2 separate regions of the Homo sapiens genome follow, and region 1 is linked to region 2. The links are contacts of gene promoters, found by promoter capture Hi-C in human tissues and cell types (Jung and others, 2019). All regions are on one chromosome and are shown on one strand. The core of a region is centred on a gene start or on the middle of the fragment in contact, and the rest is flanking DNA. Distances in the headings are between cores, read along the strand shown.

What was found. Contacts are between HindIII fragments. The study calls those that stand out against the background at their distance.
Region 1: a contact is called between a fragment that was not itself captured here and the fragment with the promoter of ZNF510 in region 2, in 2 of the 25 tissues and cell types used here (mesendoderm cells and spleen).

The regions. Positions count from the first base shown.
Region 1 is chr9:96,702,242-96,709,545 of GRCh38, forward strand. No RefSeq gene overlaps it. Among named protein-coding and RNA genes, the nearest start is that of PRXL2C, 51 kb to the left of the region's middle. The HindIII fragment of the contact is 3,848 bases long and covers 3,547-7,304 here.
Region 2 is chr9:96,772,958-96,779,666 of GRCh38, forward strand. It overlaps ZNF510 (zinc finger protein 510), which reads right to left and starts at 5,130. Exons shown (of 6, transcript NM_014930.3): 1 at 5,077-5,130; 2 at 3,043-3,288; 3 at 1,831-1,889. The coding sequence starts at 3,112. RefSeq lists a silencer at 4,891-4,990. The HindIII fragment of the contact is 14,118 bases long and covers 1-6,709 here.

The DNA of each region.
Region 1 (7,304 bases), core at 4,221-6,720, 70 kb before region 2:
ATAAAAATTACAAAGCAACAACAACAAAAAGGCAACAACAACAAAAAATCCCAAAACAAACAAAATACATAAAGACTCTTCAGTTTGGAGGGCAGTGGTTTGTCCTATGACCTTAATTCTCTGATGGGTCTAAGAAGAGTTGTTGATTTTCAGTCAAACATTAGAAGCAGAGTCAGATACAGCAGGAATGTTATAATTATCAGTTCAGCATTTTAAATTAACTATAATTAATATGTTAAAGCCTCTAAGGGAAAAAAGTGGACAATGGGTAAGAATCGATGAATGGTATAAGCAGAGAGATGGAAAGTCTAAGAAAGAATAAAAAAGGGCCAGTTGCAGTGGCACATATCTGTGATCCCAACACTTGGGGGGCTGAGGCAGGTGGATCACTTGGGCTCAGGAGTTCAAGACCAGCCTGGGCAACATGGGGAAACCTCGCCTTTACTACAAATACAGAAATTAGCCAGGTGTGGTGGCATGCACCTGTAGTCTCAGCTACTCAGGAGGCCAGGTGGGCAGATCGCTTGACCCTGGGAGATGATGCAGTGAGCCAAGATCATGCCACTGCACTCCAGCTGCAACAGGATGAGACCCTGTCTCAAAAAATAAAAACAAAAAGCAAGAGATCAAAAGCACTGTAACAAATGAAGAATGCCTTTCAAGGGCTCACTAGGAGGCTAAATGTATCCAAGGAAAGAATGTCCAAGCTTGAGTATATGTAAATAGAAACCTACAAAACCGAAAAGCAAAGAGAGAAGACTGAAAAACAATATCCAAGAACTGAGGGACAACTACAAAACGTTTAAATGCAATTAATGGGAACAGCAGAAGGTGAAGAGAGAAAGGAACAGAAGAAATACTTGAGACAATAATGACTGATAATTTTCCTCAAATTAATGTCAGACACCAAACCAAACAAAAACAGATCCAGAAAGCTAAGAGAACATCAAGCAGGATAAATGCCAAAATAAATTAATTGAAAATACACCTAGACATATATTAAAACTACAGAAAATGTAAAGAAAAAAATTCTTAAGGGCAGGCATGGTGGCTCACACCTGTAATCCCACATTTTGGGAGGCCAACGTGGGTGGATCATTTGAGGTCAGGAGCTCGAGGCCAGCCTGGTCAACATGGTGAAACCCCATCTCTACTAAAAATACAAAAATTAGGCAGGGTGGCACACGCCTGTAATCCCAGCTACTCGGGAGGCTGAGGCACAAGAATCACTTGAACCCAGGAGGCGGAGGTTGCAGTGAGCTGAGATCGTGCCACTGCACTCCAGCCTGGTTGACAGAGTGAGACTCTGTTAAAACAAAAACAAAAACAAAAAAAAAAAAACAAAAGAAAAAGCCTTGAAAGAAGCCAGAAGAGAAAAACACCCATAAAGAAGCACAGATAAGAATTACACCTGACTTTTGAAAAACGATGCCAGCAAGAAGAGAGTGGAGTGAAATATTTAAAGTGTGGTGAGGAAAAAACCTACCAACCGAGAATTCTGTATCCTGTGAAATTATGCTTCAAAATTGAAGGAAAAATGAACAAACAAAAATTGAGGGAATTTGTTGCCAGTAGACAAGAGGAAACCATGTCAGATACCAATCTGGATTCACTAAAAGAATCCAGAAATCCTAAATATGTAGATATATGGAAAATACTTTCCTTTATTTTTTTCTGTTCAAATTTTGGAAAGATAACTTAGTTTTTGAAGCAAAAATAATATGTAAGGGTTTCTTACATATGTTGCTATAAAATATATGACAATAGCCAAAAAGACAGGGCACAAGTATAATTTTACTGTTGAAAGGATTTTAAATTTTTTGAGAAGTGGTACAATATTAATATAACTCTAAATATATAATATAACTAATCTAGTTAACTCTAAATAGATTATGATAAATTAAGAATGAACATTTTGATTTATAAACTAACCACTAAAAAGTAATATGGGGAAGTACAGCTAAATATCCAATAGAGGAATAAAAATGGAATTCTAAAAATATTTAAAAGCTGACAAAAAAAGTGGAACAGAGGAACAAAACCATCAAACAAGCAAAACAAATGAGGCAACTGGAAAATGAATAACAAAGTAGCAGATTTAAGCCCTACTATATCAGTAATTACACTAAATGGACTTAAACCTCAGATTTAAAAATGGAGGCTTTCAAGCTGGATAAAAAAGCGTGATCCAACTGTATCTTGTCTAAAAGAGATGTGTTTTAACTGTAAAGATACAGGTGGATTGACAGTAAAAGGGTGATAAGAAGTATACTCTGCAAAAAAAATAAGAAATATAATATGTGTTACTAACATGGACGCAGTACAATGGGTATTGTCATAGAGTTTCAAAAAGACAATTCATTATGTTAAGAAGGGTCAATTTATCAGGAAGATGTAACAATGGTAAATATGTGTGTACCTAATAAAAGAGCTTCAAAATACAAGCTAGGCACAGCAGCTACTAGGGAGTCTGGGGTGGAGGATGGCTTGAGCCTAGGATTTTGAGGCTTCACTGAACTGTGATCATGCCACTGCACTCCAGCCTGGGTGACAGATGAAGAGCCTGTCTCTAAAGATGAAAAATTGAGAGAAAGTGTCAAAATACACAATGCAAAAACTGAGATAACTAAAAAGAGAGACAAATCCACAACCTTGCTTGGAGATTTGATATCTCTCACAGTAATTGATAGAACAAACTAGACAAAAAATAAATCCAGTAGGATGGTAGAAGACTTTAAAAATGTTGTCAACCAGTTTGACAATATATGTAGAACACTACATCCAAGGATTGCAGAATACACATTGTTTTAAAATGTACGTGGAACCTTTACAAGGATAACCTATGTTTTAGGCCTTAAAGAAGTTCCAACAAATTCTGAAGATTGAAATGTTAGAGAATAGGCTGGGCGCGGTGGCTCACGCCTTTAATCCCAGCACTTCGGGAGGCCGACGTGGGCGGATCACCTGAGGTCAGGAGTTGGAGACTAGACCAGCCCGGCTGACATGGTGAAACCCCGTCTCTACTAAAAATACAAAAATTAGCTGGGCGTGGTGGTAGGCGCCTGTAATCCCAACTACTCGGGAGGCTGAGGCAGGAGAATCACTTGAACCCGGGAAGCGGAGGTTGCAGTGAGCAGAGATCGCACCATTGCACTCCAGCCTGGGGGACAAGAGCAAGGCTTTGTCTCAGAAAAAAAAAAAAAGAAAGAAAGAAATGTTAGAGAATAAGTGTTCCGACTGCAATGGAAATTGATTTAAAAATCTATAAACTTGTATTTTTGGTCCCTAGGTATCAGAGGTTCAAATGTATTCTCATGTGGTATTTTATGATATCTCCCACAGGTCGTTCCTTGACTGGGAATCAGTGAGATAATGAAATTGTGTTCAAGCAATCCTTATCCTATTAAGGCCTAGGTACTGTGCAGATCAGTTGCTTCTGAAATGGTCCAACCACATCTGTTATGGTTTGGTGCAAAACTCTTCCCAATATCCTATTGTTTCTTGGGAAGTAGAAATGCTAAGTGCATGTGTAGAAGCTTCATCCCTGGGGATCAAGCTTGATCTCAAACAATAACGATCTGTTCTCCACAAGGCCCAGGACCCATGATCATAGTAAGGCAGATGAGAGGACTTCTGGTGCCCCCTCACATCCCTGTGCATCTTGACAGTGAGCTCTTACATAGGGCACATGATGTATATATATATATATATTTTTTTTTTTTTTTTGACTGTGGCAATTTTATTTTTTATTGATACATAATAGATGTGCATATTTCTGGGGTACATGTGATATTTTGATATTATTAATATAAGTATAATAACCAAATCAGGGTAAATGGAACATCCATCACCTTAAACATTTATCTTTTCTTTATGCTGGAAACATTTGAATTATTCTCTACTATTTTGAAATATACAATAGATGTTTTACTATAGTCACTCTACTGACTTATCAAACACTAGGTCTATTTTTTCTATCTACCTGTATTTTTTTGTAGCCATTTATTGACCTCTCTTCATCCCTCCCTCCCCCTACCCATCCCTGCCTCTGGTAACCACCATTCTTTATGAGATCCACATTCCTAACTCCTACATCTGAGTGAGAACATGTGATATCTGTGTTTCTGTGCTTGGTTTATTTCACTTAACAGTGACCTTCAGTTCCGTCCGTGTTGCTGCAAATGATAGGATTTCATTTTTTTTAATGGTGGAATATTCCATTGTGTATATATATCACATTTTCTTTATCCACTTATCCATTGACGGGCACTTGGGTTGATTCCATCTTTTGGCTATTGTAAGTAGTGCTGAAATAAACATGGGAGTGCAGACATCTCTTCAATATATTGATTTCTTTTCTTTTGGATATATACCCAGCAGTGGGATTGCTGGATCATATGATAGTTCTATTTTTAATTTTTTCAGGAATCTCCACAGTTTTCCATGGTGGCTGCGCTAATTTACATTCCCATCAACAACGGAGGAGGGTTCCCTTTTGTCCACATCCTTGCCAGGAACCCTATTCCCTTTTTGATAAAAGCCATTTTAACTGGTGTGAGGTATTCATTGTGGTTTTTTTTTTTTTTTTTTTGTTTTTTTTTTAATTTATTTTTTTATTGATAATTCTTGGGTGTTTCTCACAGAGGGGGATTTGGCAGGGTCATGGGACAATAGTGGAGGGAAGGTCAGCAGATAAACAAGTGAACAAAGGTCTCTGGTTTTCCTAGGCAGAGGACCCTGCGGCCTTCCGCAGTGTTTGTGTCCCTGATTACTTGAGATTAGGGATTGGTGATGACTCTTAACGAGCATGCTGCCTTCAAGCATCTGTTTAACAAAGCACATCTTGCACCGCCCTTAATCCATTTAACCCTGAGTGGACACAGCACATGTTTCAGAGAGCACAGGGTTGGGGGTAAGGTCACAGATCAACAGGATCCCAAGGCAGAGGAATTTTTCTTAGTGCAGAACAAAATGAAAAGTCTCCCACGTCTACTTCTTTCTACACAGACACGGCAACCATCCGATTTCTCAATCTTTTCCCCACCTTTCCTGCCTTTCTATTCCACAAAGCCGCCATTGTCATCCTGGCCCGTTCTCAATGAGCTGTTGGGCACACCTCCCAGACGGGGTGGTGGCCGGGCAGAGGGGCTCCTCACTTCCCAGTAGGGGCGGCCGGGCAGAGGCGCCCCTCACCTCCCGGACGGGGCGGCTGGCCTGGCGGGGGGGCTGACCCCCCCCACCTCCCTCCCGGACGGGGCGGCTGGCCGGGCAGAGGGGCTCCTCACTTCCCAGTAGGGGCGGCCGGGCAGAGGCGCCCCTCACCTCCCGGATGGGGCGGCTGGCCGGGCGGGGGGGCTGACCCCCCCCCACCTCCCTCCCGGACGGGGCGGCTGGCCGGGCGGGGGGCTGACACCCCCACCTCCCTCCCGGACGGGGCGGCTGGCCGGGCAGAGGGGCTCCTCACTTCCCAGTAGGGGCAGCCGGGCAGAGGCGCCCCTCACCTCCCGGACGGGGCGGCTGGCCGGGCAGGGGGGCTGACCCCCCCCACCTCCCTCCCGGACGGGGCGGCTGGCCGGGCGGGGGGCCGACACACACGATGTATATTTATCCCTTGTATCCTGGAAGTTGCCTGGGGTGCTGTTTGGGGGACCTTGCTGACAGAGTGCGTAGAGGTATGAGTGGGCTCTCAGTTAAGCACTTGAAAGCCTAGAACTTCCTTTCAATTGTGGTGAGACACTGACCTCTATTCGAAGATGGTGGCCACAGGTGTCTGTCTACCAGAGTTCTCCAGATAAGTGCATTACACAGCTCCCTTTCTGCCACTCAGTTCTGAAGTCAGCTTCAGAATAAACAGCTTGGTTCATGATTTCAGGGGATGAAAATGCCAAAGATAACAGAGAATTTGAGAAAACCTCCAGACTTGGTTTTTCTGTTTGTTTTCCTGTCTTGCTGTATCCAATGGCACAGGGATTTGCACTCTGGCAAACTCTATCTTAAGAGGAAAGTGAGACAAAAGGGTTGTTTCTTATTCCCTACAAAGCATTAAAGAAGTTCCAGTGACAGCAGTGGAGGTGTCTCATTCTTTGGTACAGAATATAGTCCTTTATAGTTTTACAGAAACCTACAAAAACACACAGTGGCAGTGTCCTGGGACAGACAACTGTGCTCTCAGTCTCTGGGAAAGTGTATTGAAAGGTGCTCATACATTTCTCCCTGAGATCTCAGTGGGGGTGAGGAATGGGAAGTATGTAACTCCCTCCCTCTTCTCTTTCCAGCACCTCCAGGAAGAAGCGAGAGTTCAGTTTCCCAAGTCGAGGGAAGTAGAGAGGGATGGGAGGGTCTGTGAGAGGTGGAGGTCAGCACAAGGGCCTCTTACCTGAGCATTTCTGCATGGGGTGCATACTGGCACCTGGCTGTGTGTGCCCCTCAAACTGGCTCCTATCATCCAGAATCCCACCTGTAATAATTCTATTCCTGCTTCACTGAAGAAGAATATCAGCCCAAGGAGGTGCAGTGACTTCACTGAAGTCACACAGCAAGTTAGTGCTGGGGTCCAGACAAGACTCAAACCTTCTGGTTTCTAATCCAATTTTCTGGATGGAAAAAAAGTTATAAGTCCTTATTCTTTTCAACTGCTGTTCTTATTTCCCAAAGTGGAGTGCCCAAACATGGAAAAGAAAGACCCCCAAGCTACTCCCCTGGCTCCACATGGATGCTTATGGAGGGATGGAGGGAGAGGCTCTCCCTGACTTCTCTCACATTAACTCCACTTTGCATCATCTCTCATTTGCTGTGCTCTCTGTCTTGGGGTAGCAGTTTATTGTAATCCCCCACTTCCCATCCAGAAAAACCCCATATCTTCTCATTTCATCTCTCATAGTCCCTTCTACTATCTTGAGACCTTATATATAATGTTTCTTGGTGTAAACATTTCATCCGGAAGGGCTTGGAGAAAGGCACACTCCCTAGCCAGTTAACATTTTTCTACCAACTCCAAATTTTTAAACAAAGCTTCTCTTCCTCAACCATCTGCAAATCAGAAAATCGTTGAATCTACCTATGACATGTAAGTCCCCACTTCAAGATATTCCATCCTTTTAGGCCTAAAGCAACCTCCATGTATTGATTTACAATTTTGCCTACAGCTTCTGCTTTCCTGAAATCCACCCCTGCCTTTGAGATCCTTTGTCTGGAAGCCACTGGGGAGGTCAGGATTTGAGCATTTAGCTGCCTGGTCCTTCTTGCTTGGTGCTCTGCAATAAACACCTTTCTATTGCTGCAAACTTCAGTGTGGATATGTGGTT
Region 2 (6,709 bases), core at 3,880-6,379:
CAAATGAAAAAATGCACTAAGAGGAGAATGAGGAAATAAATTATGGTCTATTCATACAATGAAATACAGCCCAGTGATAAAAGGGAAATATTAAGATACAGAGCAAAACATTCCCTTGAAAACTGTAAAAGAATACACTTTGTATGATTCTACTGGTATCATATTCAAAAATGAATTTATCTTTTTTCCCTAACATATGAGGTCAGAATTGTGGTTGCCCTGTAGAGGGGAGCAGTGGTGTTATCTTAATCTGGGTACTAAATTACATGAATTTACATATGTAAAAATCCATCCAGTTACACACTTCAGAGTACACTTTACTGGTATTAAAACTGCATCTCAGTTAAAGAACTAAGTTTTTAAAAGGAAAAAAGAGTGCATACAAGAGAAACAAAAATTTAGCAAAATATATATAGTTGGTAATTTGGGAAGGTGGGAACATATTTATTATATTATTTCTTTGTATCTTTCTATATTTGAACAATTTCTCAATTCCTTACAGGAAAAGAAAATTTGGACATAGACTCATACAGAGGAAAGATGATGTGAGGACAGACATCTAAGCCACGGAGCAAGGCCCTTCCCTCACAGCTCTCAGAAGGAACCAAACCTGTTGACATCTGTTTTTTTTTTTTTGAGATGGAGTCTAGCTCTGTCGCCCAGGCTGGAGTGCAGTAGCACGATCTCAGCTCACTGCAGCCTCCGCCTCCCAGGTTCAAGCAATTCTCCTGCCTCAGCCTCCCGAGTAGCTGGGATTACAGGCACCCGCCACCACGCCCGGCTAATTTTTATATTTTTAGTAGAGACAGGGTTTCACCACGTTGGCCAGGCTGGTCTCGAACTCCTGACTTCAAGTGATCTGCTCTCCTTGGCCTCCCAAAGTGCTGGGATCACAGGCGTGAGCCACTGCACCCGGCCCCTGTTGACATCTTGATCTCAGACTTCACCCGGCCCCCGATGACATCTTGATCTCAGACTTCTGGTCTCCAGAATGGTGGGAAAATAAATTGCTGTTTAATCTACCCAGTCTGTGGTTCTTTATTATAGCAGCCCTAGCAAACTAATACTAAGGCTCTAACCTTTATCTCCCTCCCCTCTCTTATTATTCCCTAAGAGGAAGTCCAAACTGCAATAGGCAAAGATTCTTAATGGACCTTGCATGCCTTGTTTAGCCTGCTCTCAAAATGCAGTAATCTCCTGTACTGCAACAATGAAAACCTTACCCATTTTTCAGGACAAAATCCTTTTAAACTCTCCACCTCTGATCAACAGAGCCTACACCATCGATCTCTCCTTTCTTTGACAGTCTGTCTACCTGAACGTCTGTTTCCATTACCTGAAAAACTGTATTAATAATAAAACTGAAAAACTGTATTAATAAAAGCCTGAGTTTGGCACTAAGCCGTCTACTTCCACTGAGGAAAAAGCAGAAGCAACATACTGCATTTATTTCAAGGCTGTTATGAGAAAGATTTGCACTGACACATGAAGACCAACAAAGACATTTTCCCTGACTTTGATAACTTTAGATTCCATGAGGAATCAGCCTGGTTTTAAGCTTCTCATCAATGCAAATCTGTAAAAAAAATACTGTCTGTCTGGCTCTCTGCCATGGCTATCAGAAAGAATGAAAACTGCAGTTCCATTTTGGAAAATCTGTAACATCAGGCGACCTCCATCTTTCCACATGCCAATTCTGCTGTGCTACTGCCCTGCTTTTCTATATATTCCTTGAATGATTTTGATCCATTTCTACATTTCCATATTAATATGTGGACCCTTAAACACCTATGAAATCCATGATGAAAAAGGTATTAGTAATTAACTCACCTGAGATATGTTCATTTTCTGCTGCTCCTGAAAGAGTGTGGAGAACCGTAAAGGATAACCTGGGGGTGAGGAAGGAGTCATGAGAGATCTGGGCAGCCTCCATCTTACCTGCCTACCAATGTCATCACACCAGCTGGGGAAAAAGGCCTCTCTACAAAAAATGTTCCTTTGACCTTTGAGAAGGGACAAGCAGCACTACAGAGAAAGCACCTCCTGAATATGTGCATCTTTAATATGATCATGTGGATGAACCCTTGCTGTGTGTGTGTGTTTTTTTGTTTTTTTTTTTTGAGACAGGATCTGGCTCTGTTGCCCAGGCTGGAGTGCAGCGGTGTGATCTCAGTTCACTGCAACTTCTGCCTCCTGGGTTCATGCAATTCTCCCGTCTCAGCCTCCTGAGTTGCTGGGACCAAAGGCACCCACCACTACACCCAGCTAATTTTTGTATTTTTTGTAGAAATGGGGTTTCACCATGTAGCTTAGGCTGGTCTCGAACTCCTGACCTCAAGCAATCTGCCCGCCTTGGCCTCCCAAAATGCTGGGATTGCAGGGGTGAGCCACCAGGCCTGGCCCCTTGCTGTTTTTCATCAGGCGATTGTAGACTATTTTCCTATTGATTTATTTAAAATGTATGTCTTCTTTGACTAACAACTTAAACAGAATTAACATTAATATTCTGTTAATATTATTTACACCAATAGAAAACACAAAACTGAAAAAAAGGAGATGCTGAAAGACTATTTTAAAATATTTTTGTTCTAACTTATAGTTTCTCAAAAGACTTTCGATAAGACACTTCTGGTGACTCACCTGTGACAGAGTGAACAGCACTGTGCTTTGCTCCAAGCTCTGTCCTGAGTGACCATGGACAAACTGTTCATCCTAGGTTCAATACTTTTTAAGGTTTTAAGAGTCAGAAATAGAAATCCTTTCCTGTATTATCATTTTTGTGATTCTACAGGTTCAGGATAGAGGCAACCTTAGTAAATTTCTAGATGCTACATGTGATGGATGTTGTGTGAGAGTGACTCAGAATCTGGAAAGAGTGAGGCAAGAATGAAGAAAATGGGGGCTCTATGAGGAGGATTAGAGACAATTTCCTCAGCCCTGGCTGGTTATGCCTTCCTTGGAGACCATGGAGAAAAGCCCTCCAGTAATGTGGCTTTTCCTGTGCAGTCTGACAGTCACCCACGCCTCTCAACCCCAGCTTACCACCTTCTGCAAGTTGGCCCACAGTGTTCAGTGTCACACAATCTGTGATGGCTTCTGGATGTGGCGACATCACCAAGTCTGGTGCTCTCTGGGCAAGGGGATGAAGAAGTGCCGCTGGTTGGGCAAATCAAGACCTGCTCCTTTCTGGGTTCTTCTGCATCTGTTTGGAAGCCCTGGTGAGGAGGTCTCTGTTCTGTCAGAGAGCAGTTCTTCGGTGGGACTCCTGTTCCTGGGGCTCCCTCCTTCCTGCAACATAAAGAGCTGCTTTGCTCCAGAGAAGCTGGGGCTGATGCCTGGGTAACAAATTTATTTTAGTTGAAACTTTCATGGAAAACAGTGTTCTTCACGTCAGCACAACTTCCATTTTGGGCTGGATAATCCTCTGACATAAGGAGTGGTCCTGTGCATTGCAGGATGTTTAAGAGCATTTCTAAACATGCACTAGACACTAGGACACCCCTTCTCCCTGTTGTGACAATCAGAAACGTCTCCAGGCCGGGCGTGGTGGCTCACGCCTGTAATCCCAGGACTGTGGGAGGCCAAGGCAGGTGGATCACCTGAGGTCAGGAGTTCAAGATAAGCCTGGCCAATATGGTGAAACCCCACCTCTACTAAAAATACAAAAAATTAGCTGGGCATGGCCATGCATGCTTGTAATTCCAGCTGAGATTACAAGCTGGGAGGCTGGGGCAGGAGAATCAGTTGAACCTGGGAGGTGGAGGTTGCAGTGAGCCAAGATCACACCACTGCCCTCCAGCCTGGGCGACAGAGAGAAACTCAGTCCCCTCTCCCCCCACCAAAAAAGTCTCCAACATTTCCAAAGTTCCCTAGGGAGCAAAATCCTCCTGGTGAAGAAGTGACCTAAGGCCTTAAACCTGATTCTCTTGGCATTAATTAGAACCCTGCTATCCATGACTACAGCCTCCAATCACATCAACTACTGAGCACTGGAAATGTGGCTAGGACCACATGTTGAAATAACATTTTGGATACACTGAGAAAACCACAGTATGTTCTTAAAATTAATTTCATGTTTTAGATTTTCATGTAGCTACTAGTTTAACATTTAAAATTACGTATGTGACTCATCTTCACTGCCCTAGAATATCAGACTGACTTCTAAAGACAGAGACAGGAGGGACAGCACAGGAGGTGGCAGGGGCCTCAGTCTAACCCAGAGGCTCTGGAGACATCCCAGAAACCCCACAACAAATACACTTGCCACATAGTAAGATTCTGTCCACACTGACTTCACAATCATTGTCCTGGGGTTTTGGGGACAATCACTCAGTGCTGTGAAGGCTGCAATGCTGGGTTAGGTAGGTAGGCCATTACAAACAGCCTGATTCGGGGAGTAAAGTGTTTATGTATTGACATCCTAGCTCTCTCATCCTTTGTGAGCTTGGCTCTATCTTTTCACTCCTCCTTCTTCATTTTTAATGATATAAATAGGGTGGTTGTGAGAATTAAACGAAATACTACATGAAAAGAACAAAGTGTCTTCCAAATATAACGGGAATCAACATTTACATGCTGCTTAGTAACTAGCGCTTAGCTAAATGCTTTACAGGGGATGGCTTACCTCTGAACGACACAAAGCAGTTTTTACTAATATCCTCATTTTCAAACGCTCAAGTGACAGAGCCAAAATTCACGAGGTCCTTCTAGCTCCTAGGCTCGGCCTCTCACCGCAGACCCACGGGCTGTACGCGCTTTGTGGCAGGTTCATGGTCAATACAATAAACGCGCATTCCCCTCCTGAAGCCAGCACCGCGTTTTCCGACGCCTGGCTGCATTCTGGCGCCCATACCTCGGCCCGCACCGAGCATCTTCCAACTAGGACTCAGCCCCACCTAACGCCCCCGGAGCCCGCCCCCACCGGCCCTTCTCAGGCTGAGGTCCCGGGCCGGCCGAGGCACAGGGAGCGACGGCCTGCTTTGGGGGAGTTCCCGGGACGTCGCGTTCCCGCCCCCTGGACACTAGCACATCCCTCCCTGCAGGTCCGCAATCCGCGTGGAGGCCCGGCGCTCTCACCTGAGCTGCGAACCCTCTGCACCAGCAAACACTAACAGGGAGAAGCCGGAAAGTGGGGTTGACTGCACATGCGCAGACGAAAACGCGCATATCCGTTCCCAGCATGCTGCGCGGTAACCCATAACATGCAAGACTACGTTTCACATGCAGTACGGCGCCAGCTGTCAGTGTTTTTTTGTTTGTTTTTCCCCCAAGATTTATGGCGTAATAACATGGACCGTCCTGATAACTGGAGCCCGGGTTCTGTCAGAGCCCCAGAGGTTGTGGGTTAGACTTGATGACATAACAGCAAATGCAGCGTGTGGTTACAGAAAGCAAGAGCCGCGGAAGACGTTTGAAAACAATTGGGAAAATTTGTATACGGACTGGAAATTAGAATTATTAATTAATTGTGGCAGCATTGGGATTATGTAGGTAATCTTGCTTATTCATAAAGAGATGTCTATGTAAGTATTTAGGATTGTATTATGTTTGTAAGTTTTTGGGTTTTTTGGTTTTTTTTTTTTTTTTTGAGACGGAGTCTTACTCTGTCGCCCAGGCTGGAGTGCAGTGGCGCGATCTCGGCTAACTGCAACCTCCGCCTCCCGGGTTCAAGCGATTCTCCTGCCTCAGCCTCCCAAGTAGCTGGGACTACAGGCGCCCGCCACTACGCCCAGCTAATTTTTGTATTTTTAGTAGAGACGGGGTTTCACCATGTTGGCCAGGCTGGTCTCGAACTCCTCACCTCAAGTGATCCGCCTGCCTTGGCCTCCCAAAGTGCTGGGTATACAGGCGTGAGCTACCACTCCCGGCCCGTTTGTAAGTTCTTTTTAAAAAATAATTAGAAATGGGAAGTATGGCAAAATGTTAAGAATATCTACTTCTAGAATATGGACATGCTTATTGACTATGTGTTGGAAAATTTTATAATATAAAGTTGATAAAGGGAAAATTGGGACTGTAATGTTACAAGTGTGCCTTTTAACTTAGAGCTGCCACAAAAATACATAAACAGCTTTGTGAATAAAGCCGTAAAATGTAACAAATACTAGAAAATGGAAACCATTATTAACATAAAAGAATAATATTTGTGATCCTCAGTTTATCTCTGGGGGGAAAAAAAGAAAAAGCAAGTAAGCTGTTCAGCATTACATAATACCTGAAGTACACACAATCCCAACTAAGAAAACCGTTATCCACAAATTATGCATCTCCTAGAGATGAGCTTGCTTAAATCTTATGTGGTATGCTTCTGAAATCAGGAACCAAATTAGGAACCTCTCAGCACAGTATTTTATGACACTCTTTTTAGTAACACACATACACTCACACACACACGGTTGATACTTTCTAACAGGTTATTTTATATGGCAATGATAAGTTTTGATTAGCAAGAAAAAAGATTAATGGCAACAGTAAACTAGTGCAGTATATATGAATCAAGGTATAAAATTTTACTGTTGACACTGAAAAACACTTTAATAGATACTGGAGGAAAAGACTAACATTTGTTTTTAAAAATTCTAATCATCTATGTTTTCTAAGTATATATTTTCTTTTTTTGACATTTATATATTTTGCCTGTTTTCCTAAAGGAACTATTCCAATTTTCATTCTAATAAAAACTTATGGTAATGATCAGAAAAGAATTGAA